Regions from separate parts of the Homo sapiens genome. Here regions 2 and 3 are each linked to region 1. Evidence: promoter capture Hi-C in 16 types of primary human blood cells and fetal thymus (Javierre and others, 2016). All regions are on one chromosome and are shown on one strand. Each heading gives the region's core, a stretch centred on a gene start or on the middle of the fragment in contact. The rest is flanking DNA. Distances are from core to core; before and after follow the strand shown. Region 1 holds the start of GOLGA7 (golgin A7). Region 2 holds the start of VDAC3 (voltage dependent anion channel 3). Region 3 overlaps POLB (DNA polymerase beta).

Evidence for each region. Contacts are between HindIII fragments. The CHiCAGO score rates a contact against its expected background, and 5 or more counts as called.
Region 2: a fragment that was not itself captured here is called in contact with the fragment with the promoter of GOLGA7 in region 1 in 2 of 17 cell types (total B cells and fetal thymus); the score reaches 6.9 in total B cells.
Region 3: a fragment that was not itself captured here is called in contact with the fragment with the promoter of GOLGA7 in region 1 in 1 of 17 cell types (fetal thymus); the score reaches 5.7 in fetal thymus.

What each region holds. Positions count from the first base shown.
Region 1 is chr8:41,488,895-41,492,069 of GRCh38, forward strand. GOLGA7 (golgin A7) reads left to right here and starts at 1,688. Exons shown (of 5, transcript NM_001002296.2): 1 at 1,688-2,071. The coding sequence starts at 1,961. RefSeq lists a silencer at 1,319-1,578 and enhancers at 1,629-1,758, 2,049-2,158, 2,209-2,318. The HindIII fragment of the contact is 7,658 bases long and covers 1-3,175 here.
Region 2 is chr8:42,391,400-42,394,574 of GRCh38, forward strand. It overlaps VDAC3 (voltage dependent anion channel 3), which reads left to right and starts at 481. Exons shown (of 10, transcript NM_005662.7): 1 at 481-529; 2 at 2,446-2,485; 3 at 2,811-2,879. The coding sequence starts at 2,813. RefSeq lists enhancers at 1-485, 486-986 and a silencer at 228-757. The HindIII fragment of the contact is 434 bases long and covers 1,383-1,816 here.
Region 3 is chr8:42,350,550-42,353,724 of GRCh38, forward strand. POLB (DNA polymerase beta) reads left to right here. Exons shown (of 14, transcript NM_002690.3): 6 at 1,970-2,019. Among named protein-coding and RNA genes, the nearest start is that of POLB, 14 kb to the left of the region's middle. The HindIII fragment of the contact is 708 bases long and covers 1,093-1,800 here.

The sequences.
Region 1 (3,175 bases), core at 438-2,937:
AGTTTTAAATAGACACTTCACCAGAGAAGATACATGGATGGCAAATAAGTACAGGAAAATATGTTCAAAATAATTAGTCATGGAAAAATGAAAATTATAGCTGCAGAAGATATTACTACCCAAGTCTTGGCAAAGATGTGGAGCAACTGGAACTCTGGTGGGAATGCAAAATGGTGTCACCACTTTGGAAAACAGTTTGTCAGTCTGCCAAAAAGTTAAACGTGTTTTTACCGTACAATCTAGCCATTCTACTCCTAGGTATGTACCCAAGAGAAATGAAAGCATTAAGGTCTACACACCTATGCAAAGACTTGCAAATGAATGTCCATAGCAGCTTTATTTGTAACATCCCAAAACTGGAAGCAATCCAAATGTCCATCAACAGATGAATGGATAAACAAACTGTGGGATGGCCATACAATGGAATAGCTATCCAGCATCAAAAATAAATGAATTATTGATAACACAACAACAGATGGACTTCAAAATAGTCTATGTGAAAGAAGCCAGGCAAAAAAAGGGGGTACACACTATATGATTCAATTTATATAAAATTCAAGGAAATGAAACTAATGTTGAGTGACAGAAGGTGGATCAGTGCCTGGGAAATGGGGTCTGGGAGAGGCAGGAGGGAGAGATTACACAGGAGCTGGAGGAACCTTTTCAGGGCAATGGAGCTTTACTATCTTGATTGTGACAGTGGTTTATGGGTGTATTCATATGTCCAAAGTTATCAAATCCACTGCTTTAAATGTGTGGTTTATTGTATGCCATTTATATCTCGAAAAAGCTGTTTTTAAAATACAGTAAGAGAATTTTTCATATTTAAAAGGCAGGATATTTAAACTATATTAAATATATAAAAGACAGTGGTACTAACAGGTTGTATTAGCAGGAGACAAGGGTAAGGTGGGGTTTCTTTGGCTGCCTTGCAAAGAAATGCTGAGTCAAGTAAGGGCCAGTGGGCAACGAGGGCGGAACCACTTGTCCCCTTGGTCACCTGAGGGATGTGGATGGGAGCTGGGTGGAAATGGGGGGTGAGAGGAACGCCGCCCCCAAAGAAGAGTCGGGGCAGGGGCGCCCAACGCTGGGGCCCAGGCAGGTTCTTCGTCCTCACTTCCTGACCCTTTCTCAAGAGTCTAGGGACCAAATGGATCCATCCTTGGAGCCTGCTTTCTACTTCTGAACACAATGAGCAGTTTGTGTTTGAGGGTTTGGGGAGGGGGTGTTGTTTTTTCTTTATGTTTTGTTTTTTGTTTTGTGTATGAGTTGGGTGGCATAACCCACACGTAAGCTGCGACGTCCAATCAAGAACGAAAATGACCCCTCACAATCAGTGATCGGGAACCACCTGCCACAATCACTAGGGAAGTGACACAGCCGGGAAACTCCGCCCCTCACACCCCCGCGCGCTCGCGCCGGCCGCAGCCCCACAGCTCGCCCCGGCCGCAGCCCCACAGCTCGCCCCGCCTCTCTCCTTCCGGAAACAATCCCCGCGCGGGCGGAAGGCGGGGTCGGCCCTGGCCCCGCCCACATCATTTCCCTTCCTCGGCCCAGCCCCACAGCGCGCAGCTTCGGCAGGGTGGCTTTACGGCCGGAGGAGAGGGTGGGTCCCAGACCTGAGGTAGGAGGCCGAGCTGAGGGGCGGGGAAGAGGCTTTTTGCGGCAGGACGTAAGTGACGGCGAAGGCGGTGCGACAGCAGCTGGAGGGCAGAGGAGGCGGGTTTGTGTTTCCCGGGCCGAACCGGGTTGTGGGGGGCGCGGGGCCTGGGCCAGGCGGCAGCTAAGGCCCGCGGTGACAGCATGGGTGAAGGGGAGCGGGGCAGAGGAGGCCTTGGGCTGTTTTCGGCGGCGGGTGGGGGCGAGGGGCTGGCGGGTCAGAGTCCCGGGTCCAGGCCGGGGCTCTGACTCGCGGTTGGTGTTCCCCCGACCCCGCAGCGCGGGGTGTCCTGTCCTCGCCATGAGGCCGCAGCAGGCGCCGGTGTCCGGAAAGGTGTTCATTCAGCGAGACTACAGCAGTGGCACACGCTGCCAGTTCCAGACCAAGTTCCCTGCGGAGCTGGAGAACCGGGTACGCAACCTGGCTCCCCACGCCTGCTCTGGCGAGGGAGAGAGACTCACCGGGGACGGGAAGGGTGTGGGCGACAACCGGGCCTTTGAGGGTCCCGCAGTTCTGGGGAGGTCCAGGCACAGAAGGGGCCTTGGCCAAACGTGTAAGAAGAGAGCCACTAAGCAAGACAGGTGTTTGGAGCAGGAAGAATAATATAGGCCGATCGCCGGGGTTGACGACCTTATGGAACTTTGTTGCCCGGTGCCGGGAATCTGGATCCAGCAGTGTTCCCCTGCTGCACTCCCCCAAATCCCCACCCCGGGTTATTGTCGGCAGCGATGAGGAGCCAATTCCTGAGGCTCCAGGTCGTCTCAGTCACCAGGTTGTAAACTATATCCTCCTACCTCTCCGCGCAAGATAAATCATCATCATTCTCGTGACTGGTGTTTGCTGCCTCTGTGCTGGCCGCACTGTTTGGCTGAAAGGGTTTATTAGGTGCATGGCCAGGCGGTGCGTTCAGGCTTTCTTGGAACCTTAAAGACGTCGGGCGTTAGATAGGCCTGGACAGGAAAATGTCTCAGAACAAGGCCTTAAACTTGTCACATTCACTGGGAGCCACCTGTTTTGTCTTGCATATCAAAATGGTCATCAGGATATAGGTCCTTTGGGCAACATTGCAGGCAAAAATGGAAGAATGGGATTTGCTTCCCCTTCAGACCTAGCAAAACTTTAAAAAAAAAAAAAAAATCATTGTATCTTGTTGTAGAGGTAATGGAGTGTGTGCGTGCCTGCCTGTGTTTTTGTGTGCCCACATATGTACATTCAACCAAAGATTCTTTTGGTCTTGACCCATGTTATGTAGATTGTGTTTCCCGTTCAGGGATCAATTTCTGGTTAGCTGGAAGCAGGTTTTGTGGCTCTCTCCTCTGTGACAGGGAGGACGAGGGCCTGAGAGGTGATTAGGCATTCCTTGGGTGTGGGACTGAGAGATGCTGGTCATGGGATAAGTGGGTGTGGATGAGTCTGTGTAGAGAAATGTGTAGCAGTTATTTACAGTCAGTTTGCAGTGAGGTGGGTTGCACTGCCCGATTTCCATGGTTGGGAAATCAACAATGATCCATTATA
Region 2 (3,175 bases), core at 350-2,849, 900 kb after region 1:
GTGGTGGCGCGCTTCTGTGGACCCTCCTACTCAGGAGGCTTAGGCAGGAGGACGGCTTGAGCCCAGGAGGTCGAGGCTCCAGTGAGCCAAGATCGCGCCACTACACTCCGGCCTGCGGCATGCCTCAAACCTGGGGTCCGGCACCCTGCGGCCTTTTCGCGGCCGCACCCATGGCAACAGTTAACTAGCAACCTCGCGCATTCTCGCGAGAATGAGTCCCCTCAAGGGCACAGGTGCGGTCCCCAGCCTCTTGGGCCCCCAGTCAACCTCACTGTCCACACCGAGCCCTCCTGCGCACGCGCGCTGCGGAGCCGGACAGTTGGTGGTGCTGGCTTGGCCCGGCTGTTCGTCTCCGCGCCTTGCTCCGAAGCGCGCGACCGTGGCGCGACACGCCGGCGCACAGGCGCTCTCGGGGAGGGGCGGCGCGCAGGCGCGGCTGGGGGTGCGAGGCTGCGCAGGCGCGGACGGCGTTGGTTTGAAGACCTTCAGCGTTGCCCTGGCGGAGCAGAGACAGGCCCTCGGGGTGGAGGTGAGGAGAGCTGAGGCCGCGCGGGCTCCAGTCCCGGAGAGCGGTGGGCCGCGGCCGAGCAGAGCGCCAGGCGGGAGGCGGGCCTAACGGAGGCTCTGTGGGCAGGGAGCAGGCTACCGGGGCGCGGGGGGCCGGGGCCGCTCGCTCCCGCCGGGACCCGCCCGGGCCACCTCAGGCGATGGAGCCGCAGCACGGCGGGGCAAGTGGCCTCCGGGCGCGGGCAGCGACCTATCCCGCCGGCGTGTGGACCGCACTTTCCTCCCAGGGGTCAGCTAGAAAGGAGATCGGTTCTAGGGAAGTTGGATCCTCGAACCCCACACCCATCTCCCGCCCGCCCCTGCCCCCTCCTTACGGCCGAGGGAGGGTGCCCTGCGTGCAATTCAAAACGGAGAAGCGAGGAACGAAAAGGGCTCTGTACTGGCTGTCAAGTTAGTGGCTTTGTAAAGCAGTAGCAACCGGCTTAACGCCTTTCCCCGTCTGCGTCTCCTGCAGCCTCTGTGCAGTGTGCACATCTATGGGCAGGTGCATTCTGTAGAGCTGGTGGAGACGTGTGGTTGTAGCTTTACTCTCGAGGAACATGAAGTTTCTGTTGTTCTCGATTTTTGCTTGATCATACTAGCAGTGCATTTCCCATCAGAGTCATAGGCCTGAAAAAGTCAGCTTGAACTAGGCAGAATTGAGGTCAGTTAGTATACTAAACCAGCTACGTGACTTTTGCATAGTATCTCGTACTGGTTTTGAAAAATAACAAAACAAAATGCTGAAATATTGTAAATAGTCCCTAGACGTATATATAGTGCTTCTAAACATTTAAGTGTATCTTTTCTCGGCAGTATGAAAAACCAGACTGTAAAGCTTTAACATTTCTATTTCAATATATACTGCCTGCATTTCTATACTTACTTCCCAAATTACAGACTTCTGGCAAAATTTCAACAAATATCAACATCAGTTGTAATCATAAAGAGTAATATCAAATTGCAATTGGGATAATATAAAAAGCCTAGAATTGATCACTTTAGTACAAGGGATTGAATTGTAAAATAATCGTTCTGTAAGTGAATTATGAAACCTGGTAGCTTAGAGCAAAGTTTTACTATGGAATGAGTCAGTACATTTATACTACCGTTTCCTCTTTAATTTTTTTTTCTTTTTAGTTTTTTATACTAGTCTCTTTATATCATAGTGTCTGTCATATTTGACAGGTTTATGTTAAGGAACAAAACTTAAATGCATTCCCATTTAAGTGCATCATATGTATATGTTTGGTATGATGGGGTAGGCAGAAGCTTAGCAGAAGTCTGGATTAAGAGCTGGGCTATATATAAATAAATATGAGCTTAAATGTGTAGATCATTCAGGCGTAGCAATTGCAAGGGCTAGCTGGTACTCTGGATTTTTCTGACATATGGGCTAATGGCACTGCTAGAGGTGGCTCTGTAATTGGTTAGACATAGCTTTTGAGTCTGCGAGAGGAATACAGAAGAACCTGCTGCAGAAAGATTTCCCATGATACAAAGAGGGCAAAGGAATGAGATAATCAGCAGTGTTGATAGCTCTGAGAATTTGATATGAGGGTCATATTACCAGTAGCAAAGCTGGGCAGATTTTTAGTAGGCAAGATGAAAAATCAAGGCACCTGAGGTTTTTGAAGGCTTTAACTTCAGAGTTTACACTAACTTTTGGTAAGCAGGTTGCTGCAGGTAGAATCTGTCATATTTCTGGTTAATGGGTAAAATTATAGCACTTTAAGAAGAGCTTTGAGAGAAGATATATTCTAGATGAATACACTTCAATTCGTATGGTAAATTCTTATTTTAAGAACTGAATTTCAGAGGAGAAAAATGTTAACCCTGAGGATTTTGATTGCATCTTTTAACAGTTTCTTTAAAAATTTCCATTGTTGTCTTATACAGGTCTTTGGTTTCATAAGAGCCTGAGAGAGATTTTTCTAAGGTAAATTTTGCATATATTTTTAAAAGAAGTCCAGTTTAACATAGCATCTTTTTCATCCTGTAAGAACTTACTTTTCTTTGAAATGCAATCAGAAAGATGACCTCTGAATCTCACGGGAAAACTGTTTTATTCTCAGTATTCTGGAAAGGTCTGTTTTTTAAGGAGCAGACTGCTGTCTCATACCTTTGATTGCATTAAAGCATTAATGATACACAGGAAGAGAAAACTGTATACCCCTTCTCACAGGATTAAACAGCAGAAGAACTGTGGGTGAATAAATACTAAATGGTTATTTTTATTCCTTTGCCCTGTTTTTCTTTATAAGATATGTGTAACACACCAACGTACTGTGACCTAGGAAAGGCTGCTAAGGATGTCTTCAACAAAGGATATGGTAAGTATGCTATTGTAACTTTCCAGTTTGGGGTAAAGGTTAGTGTTGAATGCCTACTGTGTGTAAATACTGTGTTAGTAAAATAAGGGTAAGTCAGCATTATTCCACTTCACAAGATTTAAGGGGATAACTATTAACAGGCTATTAGACCTCATTCTTTAGAGGCAGAACCCCTTACAAGCATTAAAAGCAATTATATACATATACAGATGCATATACATGTCCATATTTAATGTTATCTGGAATGTAGAATAATATATATAACATTTATGTCTCTTTGTCTGGCCCTGAGGACA
Region 3 (3,175 bases), core at 197-2,696, 860 kb after region 1:
TATAGGTGCACGCCCCCTTGCCCAGCTTCAAGCATTTTTAAATGAAGGGATTATTATCTTAAAATTTGAGCTGGTACCAAGGTGGGCTTTTTTGACACTGGCTGAAGTAAAGATTAACATTGAAATATTAAGGCTTTAGTGCTCTCATCTTTATGGCATGGGGCATTCCTTTAAATATAATGATTTGTTCTTTAAATGGCAGCATTTTCGGTGAAAGTTATTCTAAAACATATTAAATTCTTAAACCTAGTATGTTGAAAATGAAAATGACTGCTTGGGGACTCAAGGCCATTATAAAATTTTCATTGGAAGAATTACAAAAATTTTTTTTTTTTTTTAGAGATAGTGTCTTATTCTGCTATCTAGGCTAGAGTGCAGTGGTGCTATTATAGCTCACTGTAACCTTGAACTCTTGGGGTAAAGTGACTCTCCTGCCTTAGTACTCCTTTTGAGTAGCTGAGACTACAGGCTTGCGCAACCATGTGTGGCCAATTTTTGTATCTTTTGTAGAGAAGAGGTCTCCCTATGTTGCCTAGGCTGGTCTTGAACTCCTGGCCTCAAGCCTTCCTCCCACTTAAGCCTCCCAGAGTGCTAGGATTATAGGTGTGAACCACAAGGTGTTTTAGAGAGCATCTATTATCCTTTTTTTCTAGGCAAGAGAACTGAAAGTTGAATATAGAACATGAGTAACCATGGCAGAGCCAGATTTGAACCCATATCTTCTGACTCCGAGTTCAGTTCTGTTTCTTCTATGCTGCATTGCCTTCCTAACATCAGTATCAGTTTCTATATCACAATATAATGTGATGATATTTGCATAGCTTACTGAATGATACAGGTTTATTTGTCCCGAAACACTGTGGCCCCAGACTATTGTGCTTGTATGTTTATATGTGTGTGTATGCATTTCTTTCTGTTCACCGCTCCTGCTTTATTATGCTGTAAACTGGTATGGTGAGAAGAGAGTCAGGAAATCTGGATAATGGTCTAGAGCTAGCACCAGCTAGATTTGTGACCTTAGCAAATCGCTTCATCTTTCTAGGTTTCAGTGTCCTTCCTTATGAAATAAGAGAGAAATTTGGTTAATCAGTAAGCTTCCTTCTGTCCCCATCCTATAAGAGCATCTTCAGTCATTTCTGACATTCTGATTTATTTATATGAATAAAGTGATATTTTAGAAACCTAAATCAGATTTTATCATTGCTTTGTGCAGTGTCCTCTAATAGCTTTCCATTGCACTCAGAATAAAATCCAAACCTATCACCATGGCTCTAAAAGCACAGTAGAGTGTAACACCTGCGTACTGTTCCATAGCACCTCATACCGTCACTTACATCACTCTATGCATCCTAGTTTTTCTCTTCTCTTGAACAGGCCAAGCTCATGCCAGCCTTAGGGCCCTTGCACTAATTGTTTCCTTTTCCCGAAACGTTTTTCTCTTTGATCCCCTAGATAGCTGGTTCTTTAGTCATTCAAACCTCAGCTTAGATACCATCTCAGAGACCTTCTACCACTCAGTCTAAAGTAGGACCCAGCCATTCTGTCATATTCTATTTTAATTTATCCATCTGATTTTTTCTTGTTTATGTAACTAACTATTGTCTCTATCTACCCACTTACATTCTTATTCCTGCTACATTTTCAGCACCCAGGAAAGTATCTGACACATAATGGCCCTCAGTAAATCTTAGTTCAATGAATGAACAGTTTTCAAGTGCCATCTGTACATGGGCACTATGACAGCAGCTGCTTAGACATCCTTTTTATGTCTGAATTCATAGTTGTCTTCCTAATGATTGAAGCTTCAATAATTCGTACTTCGGATACAGTTGAACATTACCAAAGTAGCCATGCAACATTTTAGCAGGTCTTGTTTAGCTTAATAGCAGCTCTTCTTACTATTAAGACATGGTTGTTACAAGGATCCCAAGTTTCACCCAATGTTGAGATAATGCTTTTGTTTTTGTAGTCCATCTGCTGCAAGGAAGTTTGTAGATGAAGGAATTAAAACACTAGAAGGTGAGTATGACTGTAGGTCACTAATTCCAGATTAAATATGGTCCTGAAGGACCATTAGTGCTCTAACAAACTTCAACTTGAAAAACCCATTCTCAATCAGTAGATACAAAAGATAAGATTTTCTTTTTAACTCTGTAGTACAGTAGATATAGGGTATAGTTTATATTACCATCATAAACATTTTTAGGTTTGTAACTAACTCAGAGAAAACTAAGAAGACCAAGAACCAGGGCCAGGCGCGGTGCCTCATGCCTGTAGTCCCAGCACTTTGGGAGGCGGGTGGATCACTTGAGGTCAGGGGTTCGAGACCAGTCTGGCCAACATGGTGAAACCCCATCTCTACTAAAAATACAAAATTAGCCGGGTGTGGTGGCAGGCACCTGTAATCCCAGCTACTCAGGAGGCTGAGGCAGGAGAATTGCTTGAACCCGGGAGGCAGAGGTTGCATTGAGCCGAGGTGGTGCCACTGCACTCCAGCCTGGGTGACAGAGTAAGACTCTGTCTCAAAAAAAAAAAGAAGAAGACCAAGAACCAACCTCTTGACTTAAAAGCAATGAAATAGTTATCGTTTGCAAATTTTTCAAATATCTAAATTGCCTTTATTTCTTTTTTTTTTTTTTTGCTCTGCCTCCCAGGTTCATGCCATTCTCCTGCCTCAGCCTCCCAAGTATCTGGGACTACAGGCTCCCACCACCACACCCGGCTAATTTTTTTTTGTATTTTTAATAGAGACGGGGTTTCACTGTGTTAGCCAGGATGGTCTCGGTCTGACCTTGTGATCTGCCCACCTCGGCCTCCCAAAGTGCTGGGATTACAGGCGTGAGCCACCGCGCCTGGCCCCCTTTATTTCTTTAATAAAATTTTAGGCAATAAAATCTTAGATTAAAAGCTAAGTTATATATTACTGAAAAAGATTCTGTAAGAGATTTGTAATGGTTATTAAAGGAATTTTTGCTTTCAAAGAAAAGATAAAAATAGAACCTAACAAGTAATTATAAAACGTTTTCCTTAAATATAGTAATCCTTTACATGTAATTTATCTCTTTATACTTTTCATGGGTGTATGTATACATATGGATTCATTACAGCATATCCATGGCATTTGGGATTTAGTATTTGTGAGTATTTGCAAGCAGCCCAGTGGTTAGGTAGGCAG